3 separate regions of the Homo sapiens genome follow, and regions 1 and 3 are each linked to region 2. The links are contacts of gene promoters, found by promoter capture Hi-C in blood cells and fetal thymus (Javierre and others, 2016). All regions are on one chromosome and are shown on one strand. The core of a region is centred on a gene start or on the middle of the fragment in contact, and the rest is flanking DNA. Distances in the headings are between cores, read along the strand shown. Region 1 overlaps JAKMIP3 (Janus kinase and microtubule interacting protein 3). Region 2 holds the start of LINC03068 (long intergenic non-protein coding RNA 3068). Region 3 overlaps BNIP3 (BCL2 interacting protein 3).

Region 1 (3,750 bases), core at 450-2,949, 260 kb after region 2:
ACGTGGGCTGAGGGGCGGGAGCGAGGGCACGCTGGGACAGAGGCAGAGGGGCGGGAGTGAGGGCACGCTGGGACAGAGGCAGAGGGCCCGGCCGTAGAGACACCACGGTTTTCTAATCTAGGAGAGGTCTGAAGAGCTTTTTGGTTTTTGATTTAACCTAACTTCTAAGTAAGAAGATATTACCTCAAACAGAATGAAAAATAAATGTAGTCAAATGACACATACATGTTTACTTCTTCCCGTATTAAGCGTTACAGTTGAAATCTCTGCTGCAGTTAACATAGTACCTTGTTCTTTGTGCCTTTAATCGGGTTCGTTTCTAAATAGGTTGTCCCGGAACCATCGATCTCTAGAAGGTACAGGAGGAAGGGGACCTGCCAGTCCAGCCCTCATATTTTACAGAGGGAAAAGGTGAAGCCCCATGTAAAACAGGGATTTCCCTCGGTGACACTTCCAGGCTGAGAAGGGCCGGGGATCTGGACACCTACCCAGAAACACTCCCACCCTGTCAATGCCTCTCTGAATTATGTGATCAACTGCCTGGAGTATGAACTAGGCACATGCAAATAGAGAACAGAGGTCTTGTTGAAAATATGATGCTGAATTTTAAAAACTCACTCCCCAAATTAAAGGAACAAGACCAGAGCATTTGGTTTCCTGTGGTCACTTGATCCCTCTCCAGAGCCAGCTGCTGCTCTCCATTGTCAGCACACTCCACTCACTGCCCTATTTCCAGAACAGGAGACTTTCTGCCCCATCCATGGCCGCAACATACCACTCACACACACACACTACATGTGCACGTACACACAATGCACAATACACATACCTGCACATGTGCAAACAGCACATACACACTGCACATGCATGTACACACAATACACTACACACACATGCCCACACAATACGCACAAATGCACTGTACATGTGTACACACAATGCAAAATACACATACAGGCACATGCAATGCACAACACATACACATACATGCACATGCCCAAAGACACCACTCACACACAGCACACACATGCACACGATATATACACACATGCATACACAACACACCACTCACAGCACATGCATACGCGCACACACACACACGCACACACACGCACACACGCGCGCGCACGCACGCACACACGCACACACACGCACACACACGCGCACACACACACGCACGCACACACACGCGCGCGCACACACACGCACACACGCACACGCACACGCACACACGCACGCACACACGCACACACACGCACACACACACGCGCACGCACACACACACGCGCACGCACACACACACGCACACACACGCATGCACGCACGCACACACACACACACACACACAGTTCTGCTTCCAGGTTTGCAGTCTTCCCAAATCCCTCCCGCCCTACCCCATCTGTTCCGTCTCTTCTAGGGAACGTGATCTTCTCCCTCCCACCCACCCTCCCCTTTCTGGGCACTGTCCCTCACAGTCAGCTGAGGACCTCATCCAAACTGGAGCCATGTCAGGCACAGGACAGGTGGGAGGCAGCCATCCATGGGTCTGGCCTTGGTCTCTGTGGCTCCATGGGGCTCCTCAATGCCCCCAAGCAAGCTCTGGCACCCCAGGGTCCTCACTCAAGAGTGTCTCTGTGGACAGGCCTGAGGCTGCTAGCTGCAGAAGTGCCTGCTTGCAACGGTGGCCATTGGCTGGCGTCTGGGAACTTGGCTTCGAAGCATTCCTTTAGTGAGGAGGTTCCTGCCTAGACTGTGCAAACAATGTGATTCATGGCAAACACCAGCCTTCCTTTTGAGGGCCTGGCATGTTAGTGGGTGGGGGGCGCACAACTGAGTAGCCCCCAAATCAAAACCATGAATTTTGGGTCTTAGCTGGAATTTCCCGAGCAGAAACACTGCATATATGGGGCTGTGTTTTGCTGCTGGAGGGAGTGTGTGCCCCGTGTGCACCTCACAGGGGGAAGAGCATGGGAGGGGAGAGAGCACAGGAAGTCTGCTCACAGGCCTCTCCAGGCTGTGCCTGTGAACTCTTCCCTTGCAGATCCAGCCATGCCTCCCGATTATAGGGCTGCGATAATGGTGTGGCTGTGCCATGGTGTGGCTGTTGTGGTGTGACCCTGCCGTGGCGTGACCCTGCTGTGGTGCGACCCTGCCGTGGTGTGGCCCTGCTGTGGTGTGACTGTGTGCTGAGTCCTGTGAATCCTAGCGAGTCCCCAGAGATGCAGGTGGTCTCGGGGACCCCCAGAACATCTGCTTTCACTGTTGCCTGGAAGTGTGGGGGGTGGGGGGAACATGGGGCTGCGAATTGCCTTCAGGGAGCGCATTCTTTTACGTACTTGGCCATTCACGTGGCAAATGTTTATGTGAGTGTATCAGTGCCACAGTAAGGGTTCCGCGGGAGAAACCCAGATAATCCTCATCCCAAGAGCTCCCAGTTCTCAGGGAGGGGGCAGGAAAGTGCTGCTCAGGTGGCTGAGCTTCGAGTGACAGGAGAGAGGTAGGATGTGGGGAGCTCAGGCATAGTGCAGGTGGAGCCCCAACCAGCTCAGAGCCCGGGGAGCCCAAAAGTCCCGTCAACAAATACAGCCCCGTGACCGTGCATGATGCTGGGGGAGGATGAGCACTGAGGGCCCCTGCCCTTCACGCTGGAGGGGAAAGCCTGGGTAATTTTATCTTGGGCTGCAACGAGGATAGCTGATGAAGTGTAGGAACAAGTTGACAACCACAATCATGAACTTGGCTCATTGGACAGTGCCAAGGGCGGCAGCAGGGACAGGAGATGGCAGCATGCCTGGGGCACCACCCAGGGCTGACACAGGGTGTTTCCACAGGTCGGGGCCCCCAGCCCCACGGGCACGAAGGCACCAGAACCTCGCTAAAAGCTGCAGGGCAGAACCCTCATCAATACCACCATGGGTACCACGTGCAGACGTAGTCGTACATATGGATCAGGAAACAGCATTCTGATTGATGTCAAAACAGAGCCGGAGGAACAGGCCCCTGCCGTCTGTGTGTGCTGGAAATTTCCACTGGGATCTCAACTGTTTGGAAACATAACTCAGTTGGCAAGGAAGACAAGAACCTTCCTGGGGTCCGGAACTCTGCCTGCTTCAGAATCAACAGATGATGAATGCCACTGGAAGGCTCGGGACCTACAGCCTCAGTTTCCAAAAATGTGCATGAGACAAGCAACCCCAGGGTTCTCACACAGGGTGAGCCGCTTGGGAGGGGGTGAGACCCTGCAGTCTGGATCCTTGCTCTTCCCCAACACCGCCCCACAAATACACAGATTCCCAGCTGATAGGACATGGAGTGAGGGCCAAGCACAGGACCTTTCCCCATATGCTCTTTTGTCTGAGAAACTTTAGCCAAACATTTTCAAACCAAACAGAAACAAATGGCAGCCACTAACTCTGCTCACAGTCAAGGTATTTTTTTCTTGAAGCTCTGATTTGGGGAAAATATGAAACAGACCTTACCCAGACACAGGCTGTGCCTCCTCCTCCCTCTTCCTCCTCTACCCCCTTCATGGGGTCTCTCTCAACTCTACAGAGGGGACCAGTGCTGTTATCAACTCCCTGTCTGCCCAGGGCCGCCTCTGAGGTCATCCTCTCCCCAGCCACCACGGCGGAGCCCCATGTGGCTCACACGGATGCTGGAATGGTCCTCCCATCCTGGGACAGTCCTCAGGCACGTGGTGCTCTGCTCTGGGTCACCCTCCTACTGATTTTGGCTCTACAGCTCCCTAAT
Region 2 (3,486 bases), core at 204-2,703:
TCGCCCTGGCCCCACCACGGGGCTCCTCTGCCCAGACGTCCCAGGTCCAGAGTGGAGGCTCAGCCTTGGGCCTCAGTCCGCTCCCGGCCCGGATGTGAGGGTGGGTCGCAGCTGCACGGCCTCGCTGCCCACCAGGCCTGCGGAAGGGAGGACACGCCCTCCCACAGACCCTGTGATGGCGGCTGCCATGGAAGGTGTCTAGGCCCTTTTGGGCATCCCCTGCCCCCGTCTAGGTCCCCAGGTACTTGCAGAAAAGAAGGGGTGAGCACAGCCTTCTGTAAGGGGGCGCCCGAGTCCTGGCCAAGGTGGCCGCCCACCCTGGGGCTCCACAGTCCAGGCAGCCACCTCTTCAGTCTCTCCCCTTAATGTGGGGCAGAGTGGATAGAGGGACTCCCTCCTCTGACCAGCCAGGCAGGCAGGGAAACCCGGGCACGGGAGCCCAGGGCTGGTGGCCATGCCCTGAGGGAACTGGCTGCACTTGCAGCCCAGGCCACAGGCCCCAGGACACCCCAGACCTCTTGGCAGGACCCCAGGGTTAAAAGGCAGTTTGTGGCGCCACTTCTCCCCTGATGATGGACACCTTGAAGGGGCTCTGGGCACCAGCGGAACAAACGTCATAGGGAAACTCAGCAGCTGACCTACCACCAGGACCCACCTGTCCTCTGCCCTCCCAGAATCCTGGTCATGCGTCCAGCAAGCTCCCAGGGAGGACACGCCAGGCACTGGGCCCATGGACACGCTGTAGAGAAACGCCGCAATCGTTAGGGGCATGTGACTAAGACGCCTCCTTCCCATAGGCACCCACGGGGTGCGGCTCTTTCCAAAACGCCACATTAAAACAGCTGCAGGAGGACCGAAGGGGCCTCGTGCCCATCCCCTGCTGCTACTCCCCAGCCCGCCCTCAGCCTCCTGCCGCTGGAGCTCTGCCCACCTGCACACCCCACTCTTCTTCATCCCCAGCCCCATAAGCGAGACTACCTTGAGGCCAGTAGGTGCTTCCTGAGAGTTTAGGAATAACAGGGGAACTACAGCAAATAGCAACAATTTTAAAAGCAAACAAGGCATCAGCCCTTGCCATCCTCAAGCCGTGACCACCCCTGCCCAGGACGGAGCTCCAGCGGCTGCACACTTCCCCCAGGGCTCGCCCTGCAGCTACCTCTCAGCTCCTGGGAGGAAACTCCACATTTCAGCTGCTTTATACCCAGAGAAGCCTCCTGCCTCCCTTCCCAGTCCTGGCAGATCCTGGGCCTCTCCTGCCTGCCTGGCCTCTTGGAAATAACTGGCTGAGCCTCTCTGTGTGTCTGGCACAGCATGGGGCCCAGAGGCCAGAGCCACCGGAGGTACCCTGCAGAGAGGGTAGGGTTGCAAAATCCTCCCCCCCACCCCCACAACTGCAGAACACACCCTGGGCCCAGCTGGGCTCTAGAGGTGCCCAGGAGAGGGAACTGAATTATTTCAGGAATTGGAGATGCCCCTGTGGCTGAGGAGGAGCTGGGGCTGGGGCCGGGGCCAGGGCCGGGGCTCTGACCTGCCACTCTGCCCCACATTAAGGGCAGAGACCGAAGAGGTGGCTGCCTGGACCTTGGAGCCCCAGGGTGGGCGGCCACCTTGGCCAGGACTCGGGCGCCCCCTTACAGAAGGCTGTGCTCACCCCTTCTTTTCTGCAAGTACCTGGGGACCTAGACGGGGGCAGGGGGCCTGGGGGTCTGGGCCTGGGGGCCAGACCCTCCATCATTTCCTAGGCTGGTGCTCAGAAATGGAGGAATCTCAGGACAGGTCCCTGTGGTCTACGGGGTGGCAGGCCTGAGGCTGGCCCTCTCTGCAGAGGACACCTTGGGGGCTGCTGATCAGCCTTGAGGCCAGAGATGGCTCTCACCTGCTTCCCCGTCACAGGACCAGCACTGTCAGCCTCACCTGGAGGCTTTCTGCAGGGCTGGTTCTCTTGTCCCATCAGTGTCTGTGTGGGGTCACCCTGTTCCCCTAGGAGGGTGGGTCTGCAGGGGGGAAGCCAGAGTGGCCCTTGGAGACCTCAGGACCCCAGAGGGAATGAGCAGGGAGCCTTGAGGGTCTGGAGGAGGAATTCAGAGAGGCAGGAAGCCGGGGAGCCCTGAGGAGAGGCGAGAGGGAGTGAGCGAGCGGGGGAGGGAGTGAGGGGGGAGGGAGCCCTGAGGAAGGGGAGGGGAGTGAGCGGGGAGGGAGTGAGGAGGGAGGGAGCCCTGAGGAGAGGGGAGGAGAGTGAGTGGGAGTGAGGGGGGGAGCCCTGAGGAGAGGGGAGGAGGAGTGGGGGGGTGGGGAGCCCTGAGGAAGGGGAGGGGAGTGAGCAGGGAGGGAGTGAGGCGGGGAGCCCTGAGGAAGGGGAGAGGGAGTGAGTGGGGAGGGAGTGAGGGGAGGGAGCCCTGAGGAAGGGGAGTGGGGGGAGGGGAAGGGTGAGGCAGGAAGCCAGGGAGCCCTGAGGAGAGGGGAGAGGAGTGAGGGGGAGGGGAAGGTGTGAGGGGAGTGGGGGTTGAGAGGAGAGGGAAGGAAGGGAAGGGGGAGGGGAGGGCGATGGGGGAGCCCCCACAGACACCCCAGCTGCTGGCTGGGCGCTGGGCACCCCCCAACCGTTGGGCCTTGCTCCCACTAGGGGCAGTCGTGTCCCAGCCCCACAGTCAGGTCTGAGTCAGGGACCCGTGGCGCCCGCCCTCCCTCAGCTGAGCTCACCAACAGCTGAGAAATATTCATTTAAAAAAGCCCCCATTAAAGAGCTAACTCATTGCTGACACTGCAACTTTTTATTTTATTTTATTTTATTTATTTATTTATTTTGGAGACGGAGTCTCGCTCTGTCGCCCAGGCTGGAGTGCAGTGGCGTGATCTCGGCTCACTGCAAGCTCCGCCTCCCGGGTTCACGCCATTCTCCTGCCTCAGCCTCCCGAGTAGCTGGGACTACAGGCGCCCGCCACCACGCCTGGCTAATTTTTTGTATTTTTAGTAGAGATGGGGTTTCACCGTGTTAGCCAGGATGGTCTCAGTCTCTTGACCTCGTGATCCACCTGCCTTGGCCTCCCAAGGTGCTGGGATTACAGGCGTGAGCCACCGCACCTGGCCTTATTTTATTTTATTTGAGACAGAGTCTCACTCTGTTGCCCAGGCTGGAGTGCAGTGGCACGATCTCAGCTCACTGCAACCTCCGTCTCCTGGGCTCAAGGAATTCTCCTACCTCAGCCTCCCAAGTAGCTGGGACTAAAGGCGTCCCCCACCATGTCCAGCTAATTTTTGTGTTTTTAGTAGAGATAGGGTTTCACCATATTGGCCAGTCTGGTCTTGAACTCCTGACCTCAGGTAATCTGCCCACCTCGGCCTCCCAAAGTGCTGGGATTACAGGTGTGAGCCACCACACCCGGCCTGCAACTTATTTTTATATTAAAAAATTTGAGTCCTTAGAGGACGGAGGCCTACAGAGCCATGGGCCAGGCAGAGCAGAGGCAAGAAGGCAGAGGTGAGGGT
Region 3 (3,952 bases), core at 1,240-3,739, 470 kb after region 2:
TCGGGGTTGAGGGATGGTTCCTGGTGTGGCACCATTGCTACCTCTTGGAAATGGAAGGGCAGGCTGGTTAGATATCAAGAGCAGATTCCAGAGTGGGTAGAGAATTCCATCTGCGCCCCTTTTTTTGTCCCCATCAGGCTCCTGGGTAGAACTGCACTTCAGCAATAATGGGAACGGGGGCAGCGTTCCAGCCTCGGTTTCTATTTATAATGGAGACATGGAAAAAATACTGCTGGACGCACAGCATGAGTCTGGACGGAGTAGCTCCAAGAGCTCTCACTGTGACAGGTAGGCGCGCATCAACAAGTGTATGTGTTACAGTGCCGATGTCTTCAGTGGGTGACAGTCACAGCTGGAAGTGCCCGTGTCACCTCTAGGACAGTGGGCTGCTGTTCGCCTCGGGCCGCGTTCTGGACTGGCTCCTGCTGCAGTCCGTCCTTATATAGGAGCCTCGCCCTCTTTGGGGATGCAGTGACCTGGGACTTAGTCTGTGGGGAGCCATGTTCAAGTCATCAGTAGGCAGCGGAACAGCCACAAACCCCACTCTGAGAAACGCACTCACGCGCCTCAGCGGGGCTGTGGTCGCAGGAGGAGCGGTCCCTGGTTAGCAGTACTTCTGAGTGACTCCAAGGTAGAGTGGCCGACAGTGGTCAAAGGTCGCGTGCCCTTGAGAGCTGTGCAACAGACCCAGACCGTGAAGGCGGCAGGTGACAAAGCCAGCTGCTTGCCAGTTGCCCCTGCGTCTTCTCTGGAAGACTGGCTAGCTCACTCCTGTCGTGCTCAGCCAAAAGGGCTGAGGAAGAGTTTGGCTCTGGCAGGTGCTGGGTGGAAGGGAAGACGCGTACGCTGACTGGCTAGAGCCCCTCATCACGGAGGCGGTTCACTGCCTTTGGGGTTTGAGCTTCTAATGATAGAATGTTCACATGATGTTCTGTTTTTCCCATTCTATTCACATCGCCAAGCCCACCTCGCTCGCAGACACCACAAGATACCAACAGAGCTTCTGAAACAGATACCCATAGCATTGGAGAGAAAAACAGCTCACAGGTAAGCTGGAAGGAGAATGTGCAGTTGTAAAAGTATTTGTGATCTGTTTGTACAGGAAACGGTTTTAAATGTAATTGAGCACCTCAGAGAAAAGTCGGGCTTTAAGGGTGTTTCCTGCTTTAAAAAAAACAAAAAAGCGAAACAAAAAAACCAAGAAACTGTGGGTGGGAACATCCACAAGCACATGGGCTGGACACTCAGCTGAGCGGGGGAGGCGCCGAGTGGGACAGGCAGCGGGGGCCTCCTGTCCCTCCCTGCCTGCCATCAGGGATACACCGGAAAGGAGGAAGGGCTCCCTGGTGGCTGCAGCCTAGAGAGGAGGGAGGGACCATTGGAAGGGGTGGCAGTGAGCCAGCTACTGGCTGGTCTTTCCTCGTGGTTGCTGGTTGGACAGTGAGTGGGTTTTAATATTTGCATGCTGTGTGGGACTCAGGAGTTACCCACGGGGCCATCTAAGGCCATGTGGCCACTGTGGCTGTGACTCTGAGGTGTCTTCCTCATTAGACACTCACTACCTGCCGGAAATTACACCCTGTGCCTTTCCTAGCATTAGTCCTGAGCTAACTGGTGCCGGAGCAGTGTAGCATTAGCGGCTGATCAGCCTGATAATTTAGTGTAAGATCACTTTTTCTTCTTTTTTAAAAAAGTTTTTTTTGTAGAGACGGGGTCTCCCTGTGTTGCCCAGGGTGGTCTTGAACTCCAGGGCTCAAGTGATCCTCCCAAAATACTGGGACTATAGGTGTGAGATACTGTGTCCAGCCTAAGATGACTTTTCTGTTAACAGCTATTGAATGGGCTTTACAGAGCGGCCTTCAGCATTGTTGTGAAAGCGGAGTGAGTCTTAGAGGAAAAAGTGTACCTGGGGTTATTGCCTTGGTGTACTATCGTTCTCCCTTCCTACTCCGGCACAGATAGGGTTCGAGGCAGTGATCAGTACTGTCTTGCTCAGTTATATCTGGCAGTGCCTTACCTTGCTGCAGATGAGATGCGCGATGTGTTTTCTTGGGTGTTCGTTGCTGGTGAGAACTTTGACGACGGACTGTGTTCTGTATTTTGGAAGCTCTGTGAGGAAGCATGGCCTTCCAGGCAGGGTTAGTAGCTGACCCTTCCGTGCTAGCGCTTCCCTCAAGGCTTTCTTCACCAAGGAAACAAGGAGTCCCTGTTACCCAGGCTTTCTCAGGGACATCCCCTGGCCCCACTCCGAGGGGCAGCATGATTTCGGGAGCCCCAGGAGCCCTGGCTGTGGGTGTGTGGGTGCATCCAGGGCGTGCGGCCTGCTCCTGGGCACTTGGGGCTGTACCCAGCTTGGGTGTACCCAGATGTTTGGTGGGTTTGGGGAGCTATATTCTTGAGTATTTTCAATTTTATTTCTTTTTTTTTGAGACAGGGTCTTGCCGTTTTCACTGTTTTACACAAAACTTCCCCTAGTTTTAAAAGGAATTAGATGTTCAGGTACAGAATTTTGAAAATGCAAAAAAGTAGAGAAAAACACTTAGACTCTCAGATTTAAAATCCTCTTTAATGTTTCGTGCTGTTATATAATTCTGAGGATTTGGCCGCAGCTGTGGTTATGTGGACATTTCTGCCTTTTCCCTCCTGCTTATCCCGGAAGCATCTTGTAAACCTGCTCACTATACAGTGTCCCTTCCTTCGTCATGTCCCTGTTTTGAGCCGTTTTCGGCTGTTTTCATTTTCTTTTCTTATAACCAGTGCTGCCGTCACCATCTTTGCCCTCATGTCACGTGACTTCCCTAGGACAGTGTTTGCCGCTGTCAGTACCCCCAGAATCTCACAGTGAACCAAATGTATTTACGCCCTGAGTGGGGCTCCCCCAGAGGTGATCTGTCCCTGGAGGCGGCGAGCGTGCTGTGAGCCGGGAGTGCGGCGCGGCCCGGGGAAGGCCCCCAGCCCCAGGACTCCCCTTGGACCACGGTCCGAGGCACTGACATGTGCCTCTGGGCTCTTGAATTGAGCCTGCGGATCTGAAGCTCGGGTGGGAGCTGGGTGCTTTCCCGTGTCACGTGTGGTACACTGATCTGCCTTTAACATTGACTTTATCTTAGTCTGAGGAAGATGATATTGAAAGAAGGAAAGAAGTTGAAAGCATCTTGAAGAAAAACTCAGATTGGATATGGGATTGGTCAAGTCGGCCGGAAAATATTCCCCCCAAGTGAGTGTGTTCTCAGTGTCACGGGGGCACCCCTTGACAGAGGACACATCAGCTGACACGTTTCTTCCCGCCTCAGGGAGTTCCTCTTTAAACACCCGAAGCGCACGGCCACCCTCAGCATGAGGAACACGAGCGTCATGAAGAAAGGGGGCATATTCTCTGCAGAATTTCTGAAAGTTTTCCTTCCATCTCTGCTGCTCTCTCATTTGCTGGCCATCGGATTGGGGTAGGTGATGTGACTGTGTGACTCCTGTCATGGCATGTCGTGGGGCGATTCTGGGTTGCAGTGATTTATTCGTAACCTGTTTCCTGAAGTCCAGATCATCAGTTACAGCTTGGTGCATTTTCACAAACACCCACGTAGTCACTGTTCAGGTCCAGAAACCACCAGCCTGCAGCCCCCAAAGGCCCCAGCACAGGCGCCCTGTGGTGCTGCTGTCTGGCCTGACGAGTCTGCCTGTTGCTCACTGAATATAAACGGAGTCAAAGCAGGGCTTCTTAGGTCTGACCTCTTTGTCCTGTGTGTAGGTGAAAGCAGTCTCATTTCTGTGTAGTACTGTGGCGGGAATGCACCCAGCTCTGCTGTAGGTGGAGGGTCTCAGTTACCTGCTGTACTTCCTCCAGACAGGACTGTTGTTCTAGTAACTCTCAGCAATGAAGGAACCAATGCAGTCTCCGACTTTACTGGCTTGAGTTTCGCTCTTGTTGCCCAGGCTGAGTGCAGGGGCGTGATCT

Evidence for each region. Contacts are between HindIII fragments. The CHiCAGO score rates a contact against its expected background, and 5 or more counts as called.
Region 1: a contact is called between a fragment that was not itself captured here and the fragment with the promoter of LINC03068 in region 2, in 6 of 17 cell types (naive CD4 T cells, activated CD4 T cells, non-activated CD4 T cells and 3 more). The highest score is 11.0, in naive CD4 T cells.
Region 3: a contact is called between a fragment that was not itself captured here and the fragment with the promoter of LINC03068 in region 2, in 2 of 17 cell types (non-activated CD4 T cells and activated CD4 T cells). The highest score is 7.3, in non-activated CD4 T cells.

Annotation. Positions count from the first base shown.
Region 1 is chr10:132,178,122-132,181,871 of GRCh38, reverse strand. All of the region lies in intron 23 of JAKMIP3 (Janus kinase and microtubule interacting protein 3), which reads right to left. It overlaps JAKMIP3-AS1 (JAKMIP3 antisense RNA 1), which reads left to right. Exons shown (of 4, transcript NR_184044.1): 3 at 328-411; 4 at 2,832-3,750. Among named protein-coding and RNA genes, the nearest start is that of JAKMIP3-AS1, 6.8 kb to the left of the region's middle. The HindIII fragment of the contact is 8,704 bases long and covers 1-3,750 here.
Region 2 is chr10:132,442,949-132,446,434 of GRCh38, reverse strand. LINC03068 (long intergenic non-protein coding RNA 3068) reads left to right here and starts at 1,453. Exons shown (of 3, transcript NR_184030.1): 1 at 1,453-1,663. It overlaps LINC02870 (long intergenic non-protein coding RNA 2870), which reads right to left and starts at 1,246. Exons shown (of 3, transcript NR_149317.1): 1 at 1,157-1,246; 2 at 656-739. RefSeq lists silencers at 2,507-2,556, 2,657-2,706. The HindIII fragment of the contact is 13,459 bases long and covers 1-3,486 here.
Region 3 is chr10:131,970,129-131,974,080 of GRCh38, reverse strand. BNIP3 (BCL2 interacting protein 3) reads left to right here. Exons shown (of 6, transcript NM_004052.4): 2 at 138-288; 3 at 963-1,047; 4 at 3,111-3,217; 5 at 3,294-3,443. It also overlaps a transcript of PPP2R2D not described here. Among named protein-coding and RNA genes, the nearest start is that of BNIP3, 9.8 kb to the left of the region's middle. RefSeq lists an enhancer at 944-1,814. The HindIII fragment of the contact is 5,510 bases long and covers 1-3,952 here.